Linked DNA regions of Homo sapiens: regions 1, 2, 3, 4 and 5 are each linked to region 6. The links are contacts of gene promoters, found by promoter capture Hi-C in human tissues and cell types (Jung and others, 2019). All regions are on one chromosome and are shown on one strand. Each heading gives the region's core, a stretch centred on a gene start or on the middle of the fragment in contact. The rest is flanking DNA. Distances are from core to core; before and after follow the strand shown. Region 1 overlaps TTC6 (tetratricopeptide repeat domain 6). Region 2 has its middle 280 kb from the start of CLEC14A. Region 3 has its middle 15 kb from the start of LINC00517. Region 4 has its middle 260 kb from the start of CLEC14A. Region 5 has its middle 330 kb from the start of CLEC14A. Region 6 holds the start of SSTR1 (somatostatin receptor 1).

Region 1 (2,914 bases), core at 303-2,802, 510 kb after region 6:
AGTTCTGAAATTTCAAAAATTCTTCATATACAATTTTTTTCAAAAATTTAATTTGATAAAGCAAAACTAAAAGACTTCAGATGTATAAAATTATGACTGACAAATCCTAAAAATTTTTTTTTGCCTACATAGAAAACAAACATAAAAATGACCTTCTTTTAGGGATTCAAATAGAAACCAATTGTGATTGCTAATCACTGGGAAACCAGGTAATTTTTAATTCATGAAAGGATGCACTAGCATTGCAATTTTTACTAGAAGTCAAGTTTGAGAAAATGCATTCAAAATATACCATGAAAAGTATGGGTACTAATAATCTTGTGATAGTGTCATTAAAAGTGATCTTTTAGAATAGTATTCTCATATACCTAGGATAGTTAAATTATAATACTAAAAAAGTTTCCATTTAACTTAATATTTAACATTTGTAATTGTCTTAAAACATGCAGTACATTTTTCAGTATTTTTACCATGGCTTCTGAAAGGCGAGAGACTGTAGAGCAAGCATTCTCAATGGGCAGGTGATATCCCTCCCAGGAGGTAAAAATTGGTGCTTTGGGTCGGGGGAGCACAGTGTGATTAAAGTTTGCTCTTTTTATTTATAAAGCACATACATTCATATAGTATATAAACAGATATACAGTATATCTGGCATATTAAAATTTAATCAGGAGGGGCGATTAGAAGAAAAAAAGCCTTAAAATTCTCTTTAAGTGGGTGATAATGAAAAGGCTGAGAAAAACTGAGTTAGACAAACCTGGATTCTATCACTATCAAGAGATAAGAACTTCAGCAAGTAACCTGGTATCACGAACCCTAAATTTCTTCATGAATAAAATGGAAATTACAACTTCTCCCTTACAGTTGAAGATTTAAATAGGAAACATATGCAAAGCACACAGCACAGTTGCTCGGAATATAGTTACTGCTGCATAAACATTAGGTTCCTTCCCTTTTCTCCTTTCTTTTGAGGATGCTATAAATTATATACTCTCCACAAAAGAATATGCAGATTCCAAAGGAAGGTGAGACCCAAGGAGAAGGAGAACAAACTCCAAGAGCAATGACTTTTGTATGTGATCCCTGGACCCAAGTATACCCAATGATGGTGAAATCTAGTTCAAAAGACTGGGTCCAAGTGTCAAATCTGTGATTTTTTAAATTGTCTATGTGTAGCTAATTGCTTAAATTTTATTACTCTCAATTTCCACATCTGTACTCCAGAGCTGTGATGACAAACAAATGAGATCATGTATGTAACACTCTGGGAATACTAAAGTTACCTTACAATTGGGAATGGGTTCATGTTAATATTGTCAGGAAATGGAGACACAGACCTAGACTGTATACCTGAGGAAGCAGCAGAAAAAAACAAAAACTGCTCCCTCCTCTTTAGTGTCCAAGAACAGAATCAAGTCTTTAAAATCTAGAACTCAAAAGGCAGGATTTATATGACAGTTTACATTTAGCTTAAAATCAAATTACCAGTGGAACTCTTACCTATCTGTTTGTTCTTCATCTGTAAAGCGATCATCTAAGAAAGAGGTTCCAAATTTTCCAAGCAGGGTATCGTGGCCTTTCCTGTTAGCAGTGTGATACACTCGAGAAGCCAGGCGCAAGTCAACAGGCAGCTCCTGGGCTGGGATGGTGGTGCACAGATCATGAAGGTGCGGCATGGAGTAGTCTTGTGGAATTCTGCAACAGAGAAAAGAAAGTGAGCTCCTTTCATCATTTTGTGGACTTTAGATATAAAGTACATTTATACTGACAATTTAGTTCAGGTTCTAAAGACATACATAAATGGAGGAGATCTGATTTAAAACTATAATAATGGTATATAACAAATTTAATATCACAATCTCAGGCCATTGTCCAGAGCTTTAAACTTGTATCCAACTGCCTGCTGAATAGCTCAACCTACACCTCTACAGACAACAGTCTACAGGCATCTCAGGATCAACAAGTCTAAAAACAAACTCTTTATCATCCCACCCCAACCTCTTCTCTCCTGAATTCTGAAACTCAGTCTGTGGACACCATATCCAGCCATCATGTATTACTCCTTTGCTACTCTGGTCAAATGCTAATGTCCCTAAAGAAGTGGAACAATATAGGTAGGGCATTATCCATTAACTAGCATTGATAGAACTCTGGGTTTCTCTGAGTCAGTGTGGCATCTCCTTTCCCACTCTGCTTGGACTTGTATCTCTCTTCTGTCTTTCCTAAGTAGAGAGGATGACATGAAAATCTGCTTTTTTTTTTTTTTTTTTTTTTTTGTGAGATGGAGTCTCACTCTGTCACCCAGTCTCAGGCTGGGATGCAGTAGCACAATCTTGGCTCACTGCAACCGCCGCCTCCCAGGTTCAAGTGATTCTCCTGCCTCAGCCTCCTGAGTAGCTGGGACTACAGGCCCGTACCACCACGCCCAGCTAATGTTTGTGGTTTTAGTAGAGATGGGGTTTCCCAATGTTGGCAAGGCTGGTCTCAGACTCCTGACCTCAAGTAATCTGCCTGCCTTGGCCTCCCAAAGTGCTGGGATTACAGGCGTGAGCCACTGCGCCTAGCCAAAAATCTCCTTTCTTAATCCCCAGTGCCACCTGTAATCCAATCAACAAATAATTATTGAGCACCTACTATATGCCAGATTCTGTGCTAGGTCCTCTACACACATTTTCTCTAATTCCCACAACGAAGCTGTATTGGAGGTATAATTATCCTTATTTTGGGTAGGTCACAAAATTAGTGGGTAAGCCCTGGCATCCAAACACAACATTACTGGCTATTGGCCACATTTCTTGCCTATTAGTGACTTCTGGGTGGAAGTGGCCCTTCTCCAGAAGTACTCCATCCCTACCTTCCTACTAAAGCTTATACAACCAAATGACCTTCTTTTCATCAAATCAAATCCAATCCA
Region 2 (2,833 bases), core at 166-2,665, 330 kb before region 6:
ATATTTTTTTAACATAGTGAATGAAAAACAAGATGAAAAACATGCACAGGATGATCCTAGTTTTGTAAAGAAAAGAAAAGAAAAAAAGAAAAAGGTGCTTATATATATTCATAGAAAAAGTCAAAAATATAAATATTCAGGGTAAAATCTGTGTTATAAAGGTATGGCTTTTACTTTTGGCTTTATCAGTTTCTACATTTTGATTTGTTAGATTAAATCTGTATTGCTGTTATAACTTAAAAGCCCAATAAATAATTTTTTAAACCACGAGACTATAGATTTCATTTGCAAATTATTATTAACTTAAAATTAGTTTCTTATGGCTGCTGTAACAAATTACTATGAACTGGGGCCAGGCACAGTGGCTCACACCTGTAATCGCAGTACTTTGGGAGGCCGAGGTGGGTGGATCACTTGAGGTCAGGAGTTCGAGACCAGCCTGGCCAACATGACAAAACCCCATCTCTACTAAAAATATAAAAATTAGCCAGGTGTGGTGGTGCATGCCTGTAATACCAGCTGCTTGGGAGGCTGAGGCATGAGAATTGCTTGAACCCAAGAGGCGGAGGTTGCAGTGAGCTGAGATCACACCACTCCACTCCAACCTGGGCTACAGAGTGAGACTCTGTCTCAACATAAATAAATAAATAAATAAATAAATAACCAAATTACTGCAAACTGGATGGTTTAAAAATACAGCAATTTATTCTTCTATAGTTCTCGAGGCTGAAAGTCTGAAAAGAAGATTTCAGTAGAGCCATACTCCCTCCAAAGGCCCTAGGAAAGAATCTTCCTCTGCTTTTTCTAGCCTCTGGTGATGGATGGCAATCCTTGGCATTCCTTAGCTTGCAATGCATCAATCCAGTCTCTGCCTTGGTCTTCATATGGTTTCTTCTCTGTGTCTTTACATAGTCTTCTTAAAGGGACATCAGTCATTGGATTTAGGGTCTACCGTAATCCAGTATAACTTTGCTATAACATAACTAGTTACATATACAAAGACACTATTTCCAAAGGTCACATTCTGAGCTTCTGGATGGACGTGAATTTTGAGGGGACACTCTTCGTTCCAGTACAGACATTACTAAAGAACGCTTACAAACAAGGGTCAGTATCGACAAGCTTTATGTGTCAAAAAGTCTTTTCTGAAGGCTGCCATCTCAGGAGTATCTCACCATTACAGTTCATTGTACCCATTGGACAGGCATAGGATGAAAGCATGGGATGATATTATTGCTGCTACAGGTTTGAAGAACTTACCAAGCTTCAGGTCATCTCTCCTCCAGGCTTCGACCTGAATGCACTTTACTTACGTTACCCCAGCTTTGAGATTAAGCAGCTTGTAGTTTCTCTTCTAGTCTCTAGCTTTACTTTTGGTGTGAGATTTTGTTTGTTAATAACAAGAGTTTAGGGAAACTTTTTTTTCTTTAATCTAGGTTTTTGTTGTTGTTATACTTTAAATTCTGGGATACATGTGCAGAATGTGCAGGTTTGTTACATAGGTATACACGTGCCATGGTGGTTTGCTGCACCCATCAACCCTTGATCTACATTAGGTATTTCTCCTAATGGTATTCCTCCCGTAGTCCCCCACCCCCCAGCAGGCCCTCGTGTGTGATGTTCCCCTTAGGAACACTTTTAATTTCTTTATTTCTTATATTCACTCCACAAATGTGATCAGCACATATTATCTGCAAGGATAGAGCGTATCCAAATACTCTTTGTAAAGCAAGATTTGATCTTATGTTTACCAGGCGGGAGAACTGGATATCATTAAAAATCCTATATGGCAAAGCATTTGTGAACCAGTGCAGAAGGAAAGATTGAGGTCAATAGTTTACAATGTTACTAACACTGTATCTTTTCCATTGGTAAGCTCCTTCCAAGAATCTGGCTCTTAAATATATCAGTTAAACCACAGTCTTTACGGTAGAAAATTTATTTGTAACAATTTACTGTTTAGCTTTTCCTTAAGCCTCAAATCAGTTATCTATACTTACTGTTAATGCTATTTGCACAAAGTACTCTGTGCAATGCAAATTTCTGTCCCTTCTCCCAAAGGGCTAAAAAAATCACATGGTGAGAGAAAGAAAATGCAAGAGACATTCTGAATTTAATTCATGAGGTTTTCTTTTTTTCTGTCACATATGTAGTATTTGTATCAGAGTCAGAATTTAGAGCTAAGTTTGAACATTCAACAGATAAAAGAAAATGGTTTTATGTGGCAAACCTACTGCTCCAGAAAACAAGTAATTAAAGGATCTCTTAAAATAGCAGCCATAAATTGACATTCCATGGGAAGCCATGATTTCATTACTGTTTTTTTTTTTTTAGTGAGGCTCTTCCCTGGGCACTATTCTGAGAAATGGAATCTGTTAGCAGAATGAGCATATCACCCAAGTACTCCACATCCTCCTCTACAGAAAGCGTTAGTGCCTTTCTGGAAAACGCGGGATAATTTTATCATGTCATGTGGAGGTATTACCTTGCTATTATCTTTGTTTGGAGATTAGTATTATTTAAGAAGATATGTAAGGGTGCCATGTTGATGAGGGGTAGACTTGTAATGGTTAATAATTTTTTGTGTCAACTTGGCTAGGCATGGAAAAGAGATGGTTGGTCAAACATTCTTCTAGATGTTTCTGTAAACCTTTTTTTTTTTTAAAGATGAGATTAACATTTATATCAGTAGACTTTGAGAAAAGCAGATTACCCTTCATAATGTAAGTAGGCCTCACCCAATCATTTGAAGACCTTAATAAAAAAAAAAATAAAACCTGACTGCTCTGGAAGAGGAAGTTCTGCCAGCATATTGCCTTCAAGACTTGAATTG
Region 3 (2,700 bases), core at 108-2,607, 320 kb after region 6:
GAGAAAGCGGTAGCTTCATTCTAGCTTTTTTCTAACTTTACAGTATAATATTCCAATAGATTGTATCTCTTTATGTATTGTATCCCTTTTATGAAAATACACAGACTTCCAGTTTCTAATCTGGCATGTAAGCAGCTAACAAGTCTTCACTGCAACCCAAAAAGTGAAGAGCTAAACAAACAGGAACATCAACAACTCTTCTTAGATCTATCAGAGAAGGGAGGTCACAGGGAAAACCACCACCCCAAAAACTGGAGACAGACAGGCAGATACAGAGAATCACAACTTAGCAGAGCAGAAACCTTCACAGCAACCAGTACCTGAAGAAATAAAGGTAAAATAAAAACATTTACTTTTTTTATTCTTAATAGATCTAACAGATAATAACATGTTCAAAATAACAGTAACAATGTATTTGATTATATATGTCTGTGTGTGCGTGCGCGCGCGCGCGTGTGTGTGTAAGTGAATGGCAGTGAAGACACAAGAAACAGGGCTGAGGAAGGAATTAGGAATACTTTGTTATCGTAAGGTACTCACAGTACCCATGAAGTGTTATAGTGTTATCTGAAAGTGAAGTAGAATTAGTTGTAAACATGTATTGCAAACTCTAGAGCACCCACTTTAAAAAAAAAAAAGCTTTTAAAAAATGAGTATAATTGATAAGAAAGGAGAGAAGATTGAATCATATAAAATGCTCCTTTAAAACCACAAAATGCATAAAAGAAGTGGAAAAAATGGGAAGAAAGAATAAGGGCAACAAATAGAAAACAGTAACAAATGTAGCAGGTGTTAATTGAACTATATCAATCATCACCATAAACGTCAGTGGCCTAATGCACAAATTAAAAGATACAGATTGTTGGCCAGGTGCAATGGCTCATGCCAGTAATTCCAGCACTTTGGGAGGCTGTGGTGGGAGAATCACTTGAAACCAGGAGCTCAAGACTAGCCTGGGTAACATACCAAAGCCCTGTCTCTACAAAAAAACTTTAAAAATTGGCTGAGCATAGTAGTACATGCCTGGAGTCCTAGCTACTTGGGAGGTTGAGGCAGGAGGATGGCTTGAGCCCAGGAATTAGAGGTTACAGTGAGCTGTGATTATACTACTGCACTCCAGCCTGAGAGGCAGAAATAGACTCTTAAAAAAAAAGAAAGAAAGAAAGAAAGAAAATTGTCAGAGGAATCAAAAAACAAGGACCAACTATATGAACTATTTGTTGTCCAGCTGAAATCCCCTTTAAATATAAAGACACATATAGATTAAACGAATGGAAAAAGATATACCATGATCTTACTAATCAAAAGAAAAATGTAGTAACGATATTTATTTCAGACAGAGCAGATTTCAGAGCAAACAAGTTATCAGGAATAAAGAAGAACATTATATAATGATTTAAAAAAAGGGTCAATACTCTCAAGAAGACATAACAATCTTTAATGTGTATGCACCCAACAACAAAGCATCAAAATACATGAGGCAAAAACTGACAGAACTGCAAGGATAAATAGATTAATCCACTATTATAGTTGCAGACTTTAATATCCCTCTATCAAAAATGGATAGGTCCAACAGGCAGAAAGCCAGTAAGAACATAGTTGAACTCACTAGCATCATCAATTAACTGGATATAGCAGACATCTATAGACTATTTCATCCAACAGTAGCAGAATATACATTCTTCAAGTTCACGAGAAGCATCCAAAAGATAGATTACATTTGGGGCCATAAAACAAACCTTAGCAAATTTAATATAATAGAATCATATAATACCTCAAACCACAATGGAATTAAACTAGAAATCAATAACAGAAGAATGTCTAGAAAATCTAAAAATACTTGAAGATTAAACAACACACTTCTAAATAATATGGGTCAAAGAAAAAATCTTAATAAAAATTTTAAAATATTTTGGCTGGGCACAGTGGCTCACACCTGTAATCCCAACACTTTGGGAGGCCAAGGCAGGTGGATTACTTGAGGCCAGAAGTTCAAGACCAGCCTGGCGAACATGATGAAACCCTGTCTCTACCAAAAATACAAAAATTAGCCAGGTGTAGTGGTGCGTGCCTGTAGTCCCAGCTACTCAGGAGGCTGAGGCAGGAGAATTGCTTAACCCCAGGAGGTAAAGGTTGCAGTGAGCCAAGATCATGCCACTGCACTCCAGCCTGGACAACAGAGTGAGACTCTGTCAAAAAAAGAAAAAATAAACAAAATATTTTAAGCTAAATAAAATAGAAAATACAATTTAAAAAACTGGGGGGATTCAGTGAAAGCACTGTGTAGAGAGAAATTTGTAGCATTGAATGATTATATTAGCATTGAATGATTACATTAGAAAAGAAGAAATATGTAAAGTCAATGATCTAAGTCTCCACATAAGAAAACTAGAAAAAGAAAAACAAACTAAATCCAAAATAAGCAGAAGAAAATTATTATTATTATTATTACTAGAAATCAATAAAATTGAAAGCAGGAAATCAATAGAAAAATATCAGTAAAACCAAAAGCTGGTTCTTTGAAAAGATCAATAAAAATCAATAAGCCTCTAGCCAGGCTAAGCAAAAAAAAGAAAGAGAGAGAACACACAAATCAATAAATGAAAATGAAATTAGGGACCTCAGTAAATATCCCATGGACATTAAAAGGATAATAAAATAATTACTATGCCCATAAATGTTACAACCTAAATAAAATGG
Region 4 (2,700 bases), core at 31-2,530, 310 kb before region 6:
GCTCTGTTGGCCAGGCTGGAGTGCGGTGGTGTGATCTCAGCTCAGGGCAACCTCCACCTCGTGGGTTCAAGCGATTCTCCTGCCTCAGCCTCTCAAGTAGCTAGGATTATAGGCATGTGCCACCATGCTGGGCCTAGAATTTCAATTAATATTTATTCAAGGAGTGATTGGATCATCCAGGTGGTTACAACAGCATATACCAAATTCAAGAGTGAGGACAATATAAAGGATTTGGGTTACCAATTTTTACACAGCATTTGCATTTAACATTAGCATCAGGATTGGGATTAGTAGAAAATATTTATTACATATAATATCCAAGATGATTTTTAATGGAGGCAAGAATACAGGTATGGTCTTTCATTTTGTGCCTAAGTAACTTGATACCCCTTTGCAACAGAGAACACAAAAATAAGTAGTTGCTTATGGGTCATCAGAAGATCCATAAGTTGCAGAAATTTGAGCAGTTGGAAACTAAATTGATATTGATGATTTGAAAACATTATCAGAAGAAAGTATGAAAAATGAAATAAAAAGTAGAAATTAAGGAAATAAGGATAACAAAAGGAACACTTCAGAGACCCAACTCGAATGTTTGGACTTAGAAAGTATTATAGCATTTAAAATACCAGTATTAAGAGTTATTTTCAGAAATGCTCTAAGGAATGTTTCTATTCTATGTGCATCCCTGTGCCCTTGTGTTAGGGGTTGAATTGTGTCTACCTCTCCAAGAAAAAAAATAAATTGAAGTCCTAACATCCAGTACCTGTGAATGTGACCTCATTTAGAAATGAGTCTTTGCAGATGTAATCAAGTAAAGAAGAGGTCATTAAGTGGACTCTAATCCAATATGACTGATATCCTTCTAGGAAGAGGAAAAATGCCATGTGAAGATGGAAATATACCATAGGATGACAGAGGAAGAGATTGGAATGATGCAGTTGCAAGCCAAGGCATAGCAAGATTTGATGTTTATCACTGGAGGCTGGGAAGAAGCAAGGAGAGATTCTACCCAGAGTCTCAGAGCAACCATGGCCATGATGACAACTTGATTTTGGATTTTTGGCCTCCAGAACTATGAGAGAATAAATTTCTTGTGTTTTAAGCTATTCAGTTTGTGATACTTAGTAGGGGCATCCCTAGGAAACTAATACAATTTATTTATCTCTTTCTTATATCATCACATCACTTAACCAGCAAACTTTTATTAAACATCTACTCTGCATAGGTAATTCTGCCCCTTCATTTCACAGCTTTGAGAATCACACTCTTAACACAAAATTTGTCACTTAGAAGATTTACAAGTAAGAAGAGACAGCACAGCACAGGATACTTTGCTTTATCTTTTTTCCCTCAATTGTACTGAAGACATTCCCAGTAGTGCCATCTTTGAGAAAGAATGATACATATAGATGAATATTTTCCAGCATTTATGGGTTTTTGGCTCAAAGGTGTGCTAAAAGTGTCAAGTTGCTAGAAGATCTCTAGATAAATGGTATGCACGATGCTAGGCTTAAAAGGCATGTTTATACTAAAAGTGATAAGCCCAACACCACCTGTTATCATTAACATGACACCAGAGTTAGAAGGTATAAAAGGTTCTCAGGGGAATGATTCAATCTGAGAAGACCTCAAACTCTTTGTCAAAAAATTCTTCTAGGTGCATTGTACCTGTGCTGGATAAAGTAATGTGCAACTACTGGAAGATGAGTGTGCTGGCAGGATAAATAAGGATGACCTAAAAAGCTGTCATAGCTGGTGATCAGGCAGTAAAGATACACGCCATGTATAGTTTGTTAACTTATTGCATTAGTGGTGTCAAAAGTGCTAGCCACAATTTCCTACAGTAACTGAATTTGTTGATTGTTAGTCATGCCAACAAAATTGTTAGAACATAGAAAATACTAAAATTGAAACATTTTCCCTAAACTCTCGAAGTAATAGGAATTAGTCTCCATAAGTGGCTCTATAAAGAATCAATTAGAAAATTAGAAAATGAATTAAGTATCACGCTTTTTTTTTTTGGTTAGGCCTTTCTGTGAATGCCATAAAGTACTCTTACTTTTTTATGTATGACATCAAGCTCAATTATTATGGCTGATTAGAAGAACTGAGAACTAAGGGTAGATAAAAAATATATCCCATCCAGGCATCAGCAATTCAAGTGATATAAGACTTGTCTTTGTAAATTATTTTGTTTAAAGCCTCTTTGATACCTACTGAATGCTCAATATTTGGATACTTCAATAATATACTAAACCATTTCCTTCCTGATATCATTTTGATAGACTCATATGTCTTAGACCTAAATTTACAAAGGTATGCACTAGGATTTCATTACATTGAAGGAAACAGAAACTATGAAAGCATTTTTCACATTTCTGATTTCTGAGTCTATTTTCTTGGAGTCAAATGCTGCTGCAACATTTTGCTACAACAAACCAGATGGTACTAAATCTATTTTCTAAGAGAGGGTAGAAGATATCAGACTTGAATGTGGATGAAAAGTTCTGAGTTCTTTTCCAAAAAATGTCAAGTGGTAGTCAATTTAATCTACTTAAAAAACAACAAACAAACTAATTTAACTTCTGACAACAGAAACCTTTCAAAATTGTTCTAGTTAGGACCCAGTGAAACTTGAAGTCTGAAAAATGACACATGATGTATCACAACAAACAAGTCAGGGCTATATTGTATTAG
Region 5 (2,798 bases), core at 99-2,598, 370 kb before region 6:
GTCTCGTTCTGTCACTCAGGCTGGAGTGCGGTGGCATGATCTCAGCTCACTGCAACCTCCGCCTCCTGGGTTCAAGCGATTCTCCTGTCTCAGCCTTCTGAGTAGCTGGGATTACAGGCGCCCACCACCATGCCTGGATAATTTTTGTATTTTTAGTAGAGATGGAGTCTCACCAGGTTGGCCAGGCTGGTCTCAAACTCCTGACCTCAGGTGATCCGCCCGCTTTGGCCTCCCAAAGCACTGGGATTACAGACGTGAGCCACAATGCACAGCTGGGCCCCCATTCTTTCTATAACCTCAAGATGGTGTTCACTGGGGTTTGAGTCTTCATTCTGAAGACTCCTGTGGATACAAGTTAAATAACTTTGTATGCCTTTTCTCCTATTAATCAGTTGTCCTCATGTCTGATTTTTCAGCAACTTTAGCAAGACCATTGGCCCCCACAAGAGTATTGAGAAAATATAAAGAGATTATTATATGCTGTTTTGCTTTTGTTTGTTTCTATGTTTTGCTTTTTGGGGGAAAGAGGAGACAAAAGAAGGTGGAAATGAGGAGTAAAAAGTTCAACATAGAATGTCGATTTGCTGTATTTACTGATTACAGCAGGAAACATAAATCCTCTTGCTTATTATTAAAAAATACAGCCCTGAATGTGTGTCCTACATTCCTACAATGAATAACAGCTGCATTAGCATTCCAAAGAAAATCCTGGCTATTGGATTTCTATAGTGAAGGATTGTTTCAATAGACCTCAATTTGCTTTTTAAGACTGTTTGCAATTTTGTTAAACTTTTATATCATCAGCACCAAATTATTTTTGGCTTACCTGGCCAAAGCTGGGAATAAACCTAGATTCTATTTTGAATATACATACTATGTAGACATCTAATTATGTAGCCAATGCAAAGATATGGTATATGATTTTTCAACCTATTACTAGTCAGATATGTCAAGCTCATTCATATAAGAAAAGGTATTTCATTTCAAAACTTAAGGTCACTATGATAATACTATTACAGTGTGCATATAATTCAGATAAAATATTTTTATATTTATATATTTACAAATATACTTACAAAACAAATGAAAACTTAGAATGAGCTGCAGGAATAGCTGTAATAACATACATAGTCTGTGTATTCACTGAAAGCATTTTGTTCATAAGGTTGGAAACATTGAAAGAATCATGGAGTATAAAAAGAGCCTTGCAGGAAAAAATTATTTCTCATTTATGAAAAAACCAGAAAAAAATGTGTGGTATGAAATATGAAATATGAACTTTGTTATATCACAGAAAATTATGAAATTTTCCTTGGAGTGACCCCTTTTTCATATGGCTTAATGTATAAGTGATGTATATAAACTGTACATATTTAATCTATACAACTGAAAAAGTTTTGACTTTTGTATACATCTATGAAATTATCACCAAAATTACAATAATGAACATAACCATTTATTTAACATTTCCTCATGCCCTTTATATAAACTCTGTCTTCTTCTTCTCGTCTTCCTTCTGTGCCATGCCCAGGTAACAACTGATTACTTTCTGTTGCTATAGTTTAGTTAGCATACTATATAATTTTATATAAATGTGATCATACAGTATGTGAACTTTTGTGGGGAGGCATATGGCTGCTGTTACTAGGCATATTATTATGAGATTCATCTGTGTTTTTGCATGTATCCATAGTTACTTGTTTATATTTCCATTATTCCATTATAGAATATACCACTTAGACATTTGCAAGCTTCCAGTTTTTGTATATAACAAAGCTGCTGTGAATATTCCTACAAAAGTCTTTGGGCATATTCTTTATCATAGGTAAATACTTGAGGAAATACTCTAGAGGAAATTGGTAGATATCTGGATTATATGGTAGATGTCTGTTTAACTTATAAGCAACAATAACGTTGTTTTCCAAAGTCATCATACCGTTTTACATTCCAACCAGTAGTGCATGAGAGTTCCAGTTCTTCCACATCCTTAGCAACAAATGGTATGGCCAGTCTTTTAAATTTTAGTAATCCTAGTGGATGTAAAGTAGTATCTCATTGGAGTTTTAATTATTTATTTTTTTTAATGACATATGATGTTCAGTATCTTTTCATATGTTTATTTGTCCTTTGCATAATTTTTGTTGAAGTGTGTTCACTTTTTTCCCCATTTTTAATTGAGTTGTTTGTTTCTTACTGAGTTCTGAGTTTTTTGTTTATTGTGGATATTCTTACTTTTAAGTTTTGGCGGGTCGGACCAGGGCAGTGCTCAGTTTAGGGCTAATTATCCCCCAGTACTGAAGCAAGGCTCTTATGTGTTTTCTATCCAAGCCCTATGAATCTTAAATTTTCCAAGTCTGGCTGGTGGCAACAGGCACTATTCCTGGACTCCTGGGAAAACCAAGTATCACTAGCTCTAATTCTTTTGGGTGGATCTTTCCTCAGCCTTAGGTAATTTCTTAAAGAATATGTGTTGATCAGTAATCAACTGAAAACCTGAGGAGAACTCTGCGGGTCTCAGGCACTCCTGTTCTACACAGTTTTCTCCTCTCTGGTATGCTGTCCTGAGAATTCTAGCAACCTTGGTTTCCTCAACTCAGGAGATCTGCTGGGTACTTCCTGCTTTTCTTCTCCCTGCAGCATGGCTTGGGAATTTAAAATAGTAAGCTGAGGCACATTTTCACTTACCTTGTTGGGTTTCTGTCTCTCAAAGATCATTGTCCTTTGTTGTCTGATGTACAGTGTCTTGAAAAAGTTTTTTTTTTAATTCTTTTATTTATTTATTTTTTGGAACCACAGGA
Region 6 (2,700 bases), core at 136-2,635:
CACAGCCGCCCAGCGCCTCCGGGTAGAGCGCAACCGCTGCGGGGAGCGCGGCTCCTACCGGCGCCGGCGGGGCGCACAGCCCAGCGGTTGCCTGGGCTCTGCAGTTTGCAGCTCCGGGGTGCCCGGGCACAGGCGACCGTGGAGAGGAGAGGCCAGGATGTGGGAGCACCGCACGGCACAGCCATTAACTGGCGCGGCTCTGGACTGGTAAATGATTAATAGGCACCACCAGCGCGTCAGCAGCTACGAAAAAAGGGGGTGGGGTGGAGAAAGGGAGGAGAGCACATAGGTGGCTTGTCCCCCCCGCCCCCCATTTTTTTCCTTCCCAGTCCTGCACTCTGCTCAACTTTAGTGGCTCCTTCCGGGGTTCCCTCGCAGCACCATCTGCCTCTTGCTCTCAGAGGAACCAAGAGAGTTCCTCGGCCTTACTGGAGGGCGGGTGGGAACCAAAGGTATAGATTCTGTCTCATTCCACTCCTCTCCTACCCAAAGCAAAGACTCAAACGGATCCATGAACATGGATGTCTGGAGTTCATCTCAGTTTCCCTCCATTGCTGCCCTTTTCTCTGGAGACCCCAGCTTCTCTCCCGTCCCGCAGTCCAGAACCCTAAATTCCCTCTTCCCACCCTCGCTTGCCTTGCAGCTCAGACCCGCCAGGGAAGTTCCGGGCCCTCCTTACCCAAAGTGCGCAACCTCCAGACTGAGACGTAGATGGTCGGTGCAAAGTGCATGTGCGGTCTGTTAGCAGGTTGACGATCTTCGCGCAGACCAACTCCCTTCTTTGCGCCTGGCCCCAGCACAGGTGCCCACGCAATTACTCTTAGAATCGCGGAAACTGGCCCTAAGCTGCGAGCGTTATGAGAAGAAAGGACAACCACCGTGCGTTAGGGGCTTCTGCGCTATAACACAGCAGGCAGCTTAGGCTATTGGGAGTGTTCAGGGACCTGAGTGAACCATTCGCAAATCTCTTAATAAAGCTCGTAGCGCTCAGAGCCCCCCGTGTCTCCCACAGGAATATCGACTGCAGAAACGAGGACGCGCAGCTGGGAGCTCTGGAGGAGCTTGAGACTCCCTCCAGAAACGTGCCAGGCGCGGTGTTGGGAATCCACCTAGGTGTTCACTCGGGAAAGATAAGGCTGCGCCGCTTGGAAGGGCTCCACCCGCGTCCCTGCTGTACTTTGTACCCTGGAGAGTTGGCGGGTTCTGGCAGACGAGAGTTTAAAGGCTTGGGCGGGCGGGGACGCCAGCTCTTCTAAATCCAGGTGAGGAGCTGCCGCCGTGCGATGACCAGACCTGTCACCAACCCCAGGAACGGCAGGGCGACATTCGAGTTTTTCCGGGAAGAGCTAGGATGTCAGCTCTTTCTGAGGCTTGATTTGTGAGCTGGCTCTGGGTCACGTGCCCAAACCATTAGGAGATATCAATGTAGGCAAGCCTGAAGCTCACTGACTTCATTTAAGAATCAAAACGGTTTTCCCGTAAGAAAGAATGTATGTTCCGTTATCAGGATTTTAAACGAACCCTGGGACTTACCACCATTCTTACTCTAGGGTCTCTTTGGCTTTCCAACTGTTCCTGTGGAAGGAAGAATCACACTCCATGCAACTTCCCTGTTCCTTTTCATAAACGTTGCTTTGCTCGGTAAGATCCCTGCAAGCCTTTATTTGAAACTAGCCTGTTCACAGGAAGAGTGACCCGCAGCAGCTTAGTGCTCTGCCTCCTTCAAGCTTTGCTGTCTCCAGTTTTTCCTTAGTTTCTCCTTCTCCTCAACCAGGCTGTGCCCGCTGTACTGTAAGTCTCAGTTTTCCTCCTCTCAGTAGAGTTTACTCCAAGGAGAGGCTAAACTCCTCATGGAGGCTATCTGTACCGGTCCAGAATGAAGAAATGGATGCAGAAATTAAAAACAAAAAAGTATATTTCCTAATGCCCTGTTGCTTTATCCAGGTAATCACTTACATATACTGCATGTGTTTTAGTTCCCAAAACTAATTGTCTTGAACAGGAAAGAATAACTTCTGTAGTGTGTTGATGATAGCAATCAAAGACTAAAATAAATGACAGACTTTCATAGGAATGTGTGCAATTATTAATGAGGAATGTGCTAGGATGGAATTTGAAATTTCATACGGCTGAAACTGTTTTAACCCATTATTTTACCTGAACAAATTGCCTTCTTTAAAGTGGAATGTACAATTGGTGTTTAGTTATATTTATTTTTCCTTTACAAATACAGCACATATGGAGAGAAAATAAATGTTCATTAAGTTAAAAGAAAAGAGAGTGGGTATTGTCCCAGAATCCCAGAAGAGCATTTTACTAGCCAAGCCTCATATAATGCCTTAGATGCCTCTGCCAATCACTGACTAAAGACACCTGACTATCTGTACCTCTGGGAGCTTGGATTTCAACAGTCATTATTTAGATGCCTTGGCTTTGATCATGGTTGCTCTTTGGGAAGTGTGTGATGGGAGTCAGTGAAAAACAGCTCTGTTGTTCAGAATTTCATTAAATTCACTTTCAGCTCATCTTAGGGAAAATTTCTCTCAATTTTGTGGCCTCATATACAAAAGAAGAAAACTTAAGACCTGACGTGAGAATGCTTTTTATTTTTATTTTTTTGAGATGCCACTTTTCACCCACTAGGATGGCTATAAGAACATTTTTAAAAACAAAAAATAAACGTTAGTGAGAATGTGGAGA

What was found. The method cuts DNA at HindIII sites, captures the fragments that hold promoters and counts their contacts. A contact is called where the count stands out against the background at its distance.
Region 1: a contact is called between a fragment that was not itself captured here and the fragment with the promoter of SSTR1 in region 6, in 1 of the 25 tissues and cell types used here (mesendoderm cells).
Region 2: a fragment that was not itself captured here is called in contact with the fragment with the promoter of SSTR1 in region 6 in 2 of the 25 tissues and cell types used here (mesenchymal stem cells and mesendoderm cells).
Region 3: a contact is called between a fragment that was not itself captured here and the fragment with the promoter of SSTR1 in region 6, in 1 of the 25 tissues and cell types used here (H1 embryonic stem cells).
Region 4: a fragment that was not itself captured here is called in contact with the fragment with the promoter of SSTR1 in region 6 in 1 of the 25 tissues and cell types used here (mesendoderm cells).
Region 5: a contact is called between a fragment that was not itself captured here and the fragment with the promoter of SSTR1 in region 6, in 1 of the 25 tissues and cell types used here (mesenchymal stem cells).

Annotation. Positions count from the first base shown.
Region 1 is chr14:37,700,113-37,703,026 of GRCh38, reverse strand. TTC6 (tetratricopeptide repeat domain 6) reads right to left here. Exons shown (of 33, transcript NM_001310135.5): 7 at 1,501-1,695. Among named protein-coding and RNA genes, the nearest start is that of TTC6, 110 kb to the right of the region's middle. The HindIII fragment of the contact is 5,282 bases long and covers 1-2,914 here.
Region 2 is chr14:38,532,199-38,535,031 of GRCh38, reverse strand. No RefSeq gene overlaps it. Among named protein-coding and RNA genes, the nearest start is that of CLEC14A, 280 kb to the right of the region's middle. The HindIII fragment of the contact is 4,397 bases long and covers 1-2,833 here.
Region 3 is chr14:37,885,599-37,888,298 of GRCh38, reverse strand. No RefSeq gene overlaps it. Among named protein-coding and RNA genes, the nearest start is that of LINC00517, 15 kb to the left of the region's middle. The HindIII fragment of the contact is 7,378 bases long and covers 1-2,700 here.
Region 4 is chr14:38,512,171-38,514,870 of GRCh38, reverse strand. No RefSeq gene overlaps it. Among named protein-coding and RNA genes, the nearest start is that of CLEC14A, 260 kb to the right of the region's middle. The HindIII fragment of the contact is 4,676 bases long and covers 1-2,700 here.
Region 5 is chr14:38,580,047-38,582,844 of GRCh38, reverse strand. No RefSeq gene overlaps it. Among named protein-coding and RNA genes, the nearest start is that of CLEC14A, 330 kb to the right of the region's middle. The HindIII fragment of the contact is 5,097 bases long and covers 1-2,798 here.
Region 6 is chr14:38,206,589-38,209,288 of GRCh38, reverse strand. SSTR1 (somatostatin receptor 1) reads right to left here and starts at 1,385. Exons shown (of 3, transcript NM_001049.3): 1 at 1,185-1,385; 2 at 680-846; 3 at 1-243. LOC124903303 (a long non-coding RNA gene) reads left to right here and starts at 2. Exons shown (of 2, transcript XR_007064117.1): 1 at 2-207; 2 at 1,013-2,074. RefSeq lists an enhancer at 922-1,583. The HindIII fragment of the contact is 11,122 bases long and covers 1-2,383 here.